2 separate regions of the Homo sapiens genome follow, and region 1 is linked to region 2. Evidence: promoter capture Hi-C in human tissues and cell types (Jung and others, 2019). All regions are on one chromosome and are shown on one strand. The core of a region is centred on a gene start or on the middle of the fragment in contact, and the rest is flanking DNA. Distances in the headings are between cores, read along the strand shown. Region 1 has its middle 44 kb from the start of SLC22A2. Region 2 holds the start of SLC22A3 (solute carrier family 22 member 3).

What was found. The method cuts DNA at HindIII sites, captures the fragments that hold promoters and counts their contacts. A contact is called where the count stands out against the background at its distance.
Region 1: a fragment that was not itself captured here is called in contact with the fragment with the promoter of SLC22A3 in region 2 in 1 of the 25 tissues and cell types used here (H1 embryonic stem cells).

What each region holds. Positions count from the first base shown.
Region 1 is chr6:160,212,477-160,216,389 of GRCh38, reverse strand. No RefSeq gene overlaps it. Among named protein-coding and RNA genes, the nearest start is that of SLC22A2, 44 kb to the left of the region's middle. The HindIII fragment of the contact is 4,279 bases long and covers 73-3,913 here.
Region 2 is chr6:160,347,051-160,350,560 of GRCh38, reverse strand. SLC22A3 (solute carrier family 22 member 3) reads right to left here and starts at 2,183. Exons shown (of 11, transcript NM_021977.4): 1 at 1,713-2,183. The coding sequence starts at 2,141. The HindIII fragment of the contact is 13,379 bases long and covers 1-3,510 here.

The DNA.
Region 1 (3,913 bases), core at 963-3,462, 130 kb after region 2:
TAAACTTTGTCACATTTTTATTAAATCAAATACTGAACTTTCATGTCATTATGGCTATTAACACTGAGTCATTTTGTGTACTATGATTATGCTTCCTTTCTTTTACAGTATCTTGCTTTTCCTGAACACTGGTTTTTATTGTTTTGTTTTCTACATATTCATCATTAATTTTCCTCCAAACTATCTGACAGAATAATAGCTCTCCCCTCAATGTATTCAAATACGTCACGCATTGGTTTCTCTTCTTTTCTTTTGTTCTGAGAGACCTCCCACATGGAGCCCCCAGCCCTCCTGCTCCACTTTCGCCTGGTGGATCTCTAGGTCTGCAGCAGAGCTGTTGCCCTGGGCTCTCTTTCCCCACCTTCCTGAGTGTTCCTTTTGTCTCCTGTCTCCTAGATGCCATCTCCTTCTTGATTTTTGTCACATTTTAAAGAAGCATAATTTCCAATAGCTTCCTGAGAAAGCAGGTATGCCTGTCCTCCTGCACTCTCTTCTGTGGCATCAACTGTTGAAACCTGAAAATGACATTTCTCAGACCCGTCACCACCTGGCTTCCTATACAGTGGGTCACACTGGCCAGAGATGGGAAGGAAGGAGCAAGAGAGAAGAGAAACATTGATATTATAGGCTGTAGAATTGCACCATAGGCTGAATTCATACCCTCATCAGGTCTCTTAAACAAAAGTTACAAAATGGGTAGGAAGGAGGGAATCTCAGAACTGGAATGGAGACACTGACTGAACCCAAATGAATCTGAAGATCTTGAACCCCCATGATATAGTTAGGCTCTGTGTCCCCACTCAAATCTCACCTTGAATTGTAATAATCCCCACGTGTCATGGGAGGTACCAAATGCAACGTAATTGAATCATGGGGGCAGGTTTTTCCTGTGCTGTTCTTGTGGTAGTGAATAAGTCTCATGATATCTGATGGTTTCATAATAGGGAATTCCCCTTTACATGCCAGGACTCCTCTTGCTTTCTGTCATGTAATACGTGCTTTTGCTCCTCCTTTGCTTTCCACCACAATTGTGAGGCCTCCCCAGCCATGTGGAACTGTAAGCCAAAACTTTTTCCTTTGTAAATTACCCAGTGTGGTATGTCTTTATTAGTATCATGAGAACAGAATAATACAATAAATTGGTACCAGTGTCAAAGAAAAGTGTTGAACTCTATAAAATATTTAAAGAGATTTATTCTGAGCCAAATATGAGTGACCATGGCTCGTGACACAGCTCTCAGGAGGTCCTGAGAACATGTGCCCAAGGTGGTCGGGGCACAGCTTGGTTTTATACATTTTAGAGAGGCATGAGGCATCAATCAAATGCATTTAAGAAATACATTGGTTTGGTCCAGAAAGGCAGGACAACTCAAAGTGAGGAGGGCATGGCGGGGGCTTCCAGGCTATAGGTGAAGTTAAACATTTTCTGGTTGACAATTGGTTGGGTTTGTCTAAAGATCTGGAATTGATAGAAAGGGAATGTTCAGGTTAAGATAAAGATTGTGGAGGTCTGTTCTAAGACGATCAAATAGAAACGGCTCTAGTCTGCAGCTCCCAGCGTGATCAATGCAGAAGATGGGTGATTTCTGCATTTCCAACTGAGGTACCTGGTTCACCTCATTGGGACTGGTGGGACAGTGGGTGCAGCCCATGGAGGGCTGAAGCAGGGTGGGGTGTCACCTCACCTGGGAAGCGCAAGAGGTCAGGGGATTTCCCTTTCCTAGCCAAGGGAAGCCATGACAGACTGTACCTGGAAAAACGGGACACTCCCGCTTAAATACTGCACTTTTCCAACAGTCTTAGCAAACAGCACAACAGGAGATTATATCCCATGCCTGGCTCGGTGGGTCCCATGCCCTCAGAGCCTTGCTCACTGCTAGTGCAACAGTCTGAGATCAACCTACAAGGCAGCAGCCTGGCAGTGGCAGGAGCATCTGCCATTGCTGAAGCTTGAGTAGGTAAACAAAGCTGCCAGAAAGCTCAAATGGGGCAGAGCCTACTGCAGTGCTGCGAGGCTTGCTGCCTCTATAGACTCCACCTCTGGGGGCAGGGCATAGCTGAATAAAAGGCAGCAAAAACTTCTGCAGACTTAGATGTCCCTGTCTGACAGCTCTGAATAGAGCAGTGGTTCTCCCAGCACAGTTTTTGAGCTCTGAGAATGGACAGACTGCCTTCTCAAGTGGGTCCATGACCCCCATGTAGCCTAACTGGGAGACACCTCCCCGTAGAAGCTGACTGACACCTCATATAGGCGGGTGCCCCTCTGGGACAAAGCTTCCAGAGGAAGGATCAGGCAGCAATATTTGCTGTTCTTCAATATTTGCTGTTCTACAGCCTCTACTGGTGATACCCAGGCAAACAGGGTCTGGAGTGGACCTCCAGCAAACTCCAACAGACCTGCAGCTGAGGGACATGACTGTTAGAAGAAAAACTAACAAACATAAAGCAATAGCATCAACATCAACAAAAAGGACATCCACACCGAAACCCCATCTGTAGGTCACCAACATCAAAGACCAAAGGTAGATAAAACCACAAAGATGGGGAGAAACCAGAGCAGAAAAGCCAAAAATTTTAAAAGCCAGAGCAACTCTTCTCCTCCAAAGGATCGCAGCTCCTCACCAGCAGCGGAACAAAGGAGGACGGAGAATGACTTTAACGAGTTGACAGAAGTAGGCTTCAGAAGGTCGGTAATAACAAACTTCTCTGAGCTAAAGGAAGGTGTTTGAACCCAACGCAAGGAAGCTAAAAATCTTGAAAAAAGACGAATGACTAACTAGAATAAACAGTGTAGAGAAGACCTTAAATGACCTAATGGAGATGAAAACCATAGCATGAGAACTACATGACGCATGCAAAAGCTTCAGTAGCTGATTTGATCAAGTGGAAGAAAGGGTCAGTGATTGAAGATCAAATGAATGAAATAAAGCAAGAAGAGAAGTTTAGAGAAAAAACAGTAAAAAGAAATGAACAAAGCCACCAACAAATATGGGACTATGTGAAAAGACCAAATCTATGATGGATTGGTGTACCTGAAAGTGACAGGGAGAATAAAACCAAGTTGGAAAACACTTTTCAGGATATTATCCAGGAGAACTTCCCAAACCTAGCAAGACAGGCCAACATTCAAATTCAGGAAATACAGAGAACACCACAAAGATACTCCTCGAGAAGAGCAACCCCAAGACAGATAATTGTCAGATTCACCAAGGTTGAAATGAAGGAAAAAATGTTAAGGGCAGCCAGTGAGAAAGGTCAGGTTACCCACAAAGGGAAGCCCATCAGACTAACAGTGAATCTCTCAGCCCAAACTCTACAAGCCAGAAGAGAGTGGGGGCCAATATTAAACATTCTTAAAGAAAAGAATTTTCAACGCAGAATTTCATGTGCAGACAAACTAAGCTTCATAAGTGAAAGAGAAATAAAATCCTTTACAGACAAGCAAATGCTGAGAGATTTTGTCACCACCAGGCCTGCCTTACAAGAGCTCCTGAAGGAAGCACTAAACATAGAAAGAAAAAACCAGCACCAGCCACTGCAAAAACATGCCAAATTGTAAAGACCATCAATCCTAGGAAGAAACTGCATCAATTAACAGGCAAAATAATCAGCAAACATCATAATGACAGGATCAAATTCACACATAACAATATTAACCTTAAATGTAAATGGGCTAAATGTGCCAATTAAAAGACACAGACTGGCAAATTGGATAAAGAGTCAAGACCCATCAGTGTGCTGTATTCAGGAGACCCATCTCATGTGCAAAGACGCACGTAGGCTTGAAATAAAGGGATGGAGGAAGATCTACCAAGCAAATGGAAAACAAAACAAAAAAAAAACGAGTTGCAATCCTAGTCTCTGATAAAACAGGCTTTAAACCAACAAAGATCAAAAGAGACAAAGAAGGCCA
Region 2 (3,510 bases), core at 934-3,433:
AAGTAAGCATTAGGCAGCGCTGCTGAGTGGAGTGGAAGAAGCCACCTAACAGATGCGACTCACAGAGATAATGCCCTCTCTCATCCAAGTCCATGCCCTGTCCTTTCAACTGTGAAATCTCTAACCAGACCATCACCAATTATAAAGCAGTCCCCAGCCTTACCATGGATTAAGTAGAAATTAAAGATCCCAACACACATATGTATTGCCTGGCTGTCTTGCCAGGGGGGTTTATCCTGAGATCACTCAGCATAGAGCCACTCAGTGTGCGAACACACTTGCATGTGGCATTATAGAAACACCCTGAACACACATACACATTGCCTGGCTGTCCTGCCAGGGGGTTTTATCCCTGGAGCACTTAGCATAGAGCCATCCACTGTGCGAACACAGCAGCACACGGCGTTACAGAAAGATCCCAAACACATACACACATCGCCTGGCTGTCCTGCCATGGGTTTTATCCCTGGAGCACATAGCATAGAGCCATCCACTGTGCGAACACACCAGCACATGGCGTATAAAACATGTACAATTGCAACCACCGACACTCCCAACTGCAGCGAGATAAGCTCACCAGACCAACAGCAACAGCGGCAGAAAGGGCGCTCCTACCTCCTCATCCAGTGTTTTCCCCACTCTTCAAGTAGGTGATTTTTTAAAGTTTATCACAAAAAAAAGACAAACCTTTTTTCCTAATGTACCTGATCACATTCAATCTTTTTTTAAAATTAACTTAAGCTGTGATTGTAGACAAAGCTCAGTAAAACTGCTCATCTCTGCAACCCATGCTCAATTGAGGCCGTTTCTGAGTTCCGATTATTACAAAGTGACTCTGCTCTATATCTGGACCTCACAGAGAGGCAATCTTCCATTTCAGCAAGGATGCAGAAACAGATTACTGAGGGCAAGGGTGAAGGAAGCTCCCCTAACTTCCAAATGCACTGACTGCCCAAAATGTGGGGATCGCCCCCGCCCACCCGCCGGCAGCAGCCTCCGCCTGTAAATGGGTTGGGGATTTGCGTTGGAAGGCTGTGGCCCTCCCGCTATGTTCCTAAAATTTATTACCAGAAAAAAAAACTAAAATTTATCCAATACTTCAGTTTTCCCAACTTATCCCAGATGTTGCTCTTTGCCCCAAAGCAATTTTACCAAAACCATTCCCCGGGAAAGCCTCGACCTTTGTCCCCTTGCATTTTGAGTAACCATTTGGGCAACTGGAAAAAAGCTGCTGCTGCCTTCAAACGTTGGTTCGCCCTTTCCTTTGACCCTGGAGACCATAAGCGAATCCGGAACTGCCAACGTCGCTCACCCCAGAGACTGAAGTTCCCTATCGCGCACCTAACCATAATTTCCAATGACGGCGCCCGCACACCTCAAAGATAAGGAACGCGGTGCTGGGTCTTTGACTCCTGAGCAGGCGTGCGCCAGGCGTTTACAACTCGGCTTCGAAGAAAGTTTTTGTTCACACCCGAAACCAAAGTATCTGTGCATTAACTCACGGGCTCAGGCAGATAACGAAAGGCTTTTCCCAGCATTTACGACGCGGCACTTCCAAGGGTGCGCTGAATCCTGTCTGTCCCCAGAGGTAGCCGACCGGTCCCCGTCTCCACCGACCTCCCCTGGCGGCCAGCGTCTCACACGCGGCTTGTCCGCCTGGGAGCCAGCATCGTCCTCTCCCGCCGGCTTCCAAAGGGCCGGGGCGCCCTTACCTCGCTGACGATGGTGGAGTGGGCCTGGGCGTAGCGCCAGCCGCCGCGGCACGGCACAAGGGGAGCCGAGCGGTTGGGGAAGGCGGCGAGTGGGTCCGCGCAGCTGAGAGCGCTAGTGGCGGAGGCGCTGTCGTTGGCCGCCTCCAGGAGGTAGCGCTGGCAGCGGCCGCGGCGCTCGGGGGGCTCTGGGCCGCGGGAGGCGGGCGCCGTGCGGTTCCACTCCTCCTCCGGGCTCCAGCCGCAGCGCTCGGCCAGCGCCGCGGCACTTGGCCCGCGGCACCAGTAGTGGTCGGGCTGCGTGCCCAGGAAGACCACGCCGACGAAGAGGAAGGCGAAGGTGACGCCCGTCAGGCACAGCAGCAAAAACACGCGCCTCTGGAAGCGCCCGAACTCGCCCACCCGCTGCAGCGCCTCGTCGAAGGAGGGCATGGTGCGCCCGCCGCCCGCCGCCCGCAGCCCGCGCCTCGGAGTGACCCGCGGACCCAGCCGGCGGCCTCTCTTTACTCCGCCGCCTCCCCCGCGCCACCCGCCTCACTCGCCCTGGCGCTGTGCCGGCCGCAGCCGCTCCTCCTGCCCCCCGCGGCCCCCGCCTCTCTTCCCCGGGCGCCCGCAGCAGCCCCGGGCCACAGGTCGCGGGAGGGACGGCCGCGAGCCGGACGCACCCGGCCGGGGTGGGCGCGCGGTGGGGCTCGGGCGGTGCGGCCTGACTACGCGCCAGGGACCCGGCCGGGACCGCGAGTGACGGGCGCAGCCTCCGGCCTGGCGCGGAGCTCCTTTTGGTCCCTGCCAGCAGCCTGCTCTGCAGTCAGCCCCAGGTCGGGCTCCAGAAGAAGAAAGTTCCAGGGTCACCCGACCACTCCCGGAACTTCTGGGACCCGATCTCTCAGCGGCCCGGAGTGCAGCCCGGGGACTAAGGACGCGCGCGCGCGCCCCGGGTCCGGTGCCTGTGCCCGGGAGAGCCCCCTCCAGCCCTTGGCCCTTGCGCGTGCGGAGGCCTCCTGCGCCCATGTGGGGCAGGGCAGGGCAGGGCAGGGCAGGGCAGGGCAGGGCAGGGCAGGGCTGCCCGTTCCCAGCACAGCGCTGGCCATCGCCCTCGACCCATCGAGAGCTACAACTTGGGATTTGATCACCCAACTTTCCCCAGAGGGCAGCCGGGCAACCCACACAGGCGAAGGGGCTTGCTCAGCGTCCAGGAGGTTTGGGGTGAGAAGGGATCGCCTCAAGGCCAGGCCTGATGCAGACCTCCTTCGCCAGGGCCTTCCCACCCACCTTCGGTCTGAACGCCAGGGAAGGGTGTTGGTGGTTGGTTTGAATCCTGGTTTTTCCGCTTACTTATTGCGCCTGCCAATTCGGCAGAGCGCGATCAGAACTTCCCGCCCAGGCTGCCCAGGCTGCTGGGTCCATGCTGGGACGCCTTCCCCGGGCTGGGTCGCGGTCCCCCCACGCCCCCACGTTATCGGCCCACGTTCTGCCTTTAGCTCACTTTTCTCCAAGGCCTTGGGAGGACTTGCGGTTCCTCCTCCGGAACAAGGAGTTTGAAGCCAGGCTGCTTGGATTCAAACTGGCCTCATGTCCTCACCAGCAGTTTCAACTGCCCGCTGGACCCCAGACTCAGTCTGTCCCCCTCCAACCCAGCTCCCCTTTCCTGCCCTGCCTTTCGGTGCAACCATGTCCTGGGCCCAGACTCAGAACCTCAGTATGGCGGGGACACCACTCACTCCTCAGGCCTGTACTCTTAGGTCATCTCGGCTTGGAACCCCTTTTGCCAATGTTGGAGCTCAGAAAACAATACGCCAAA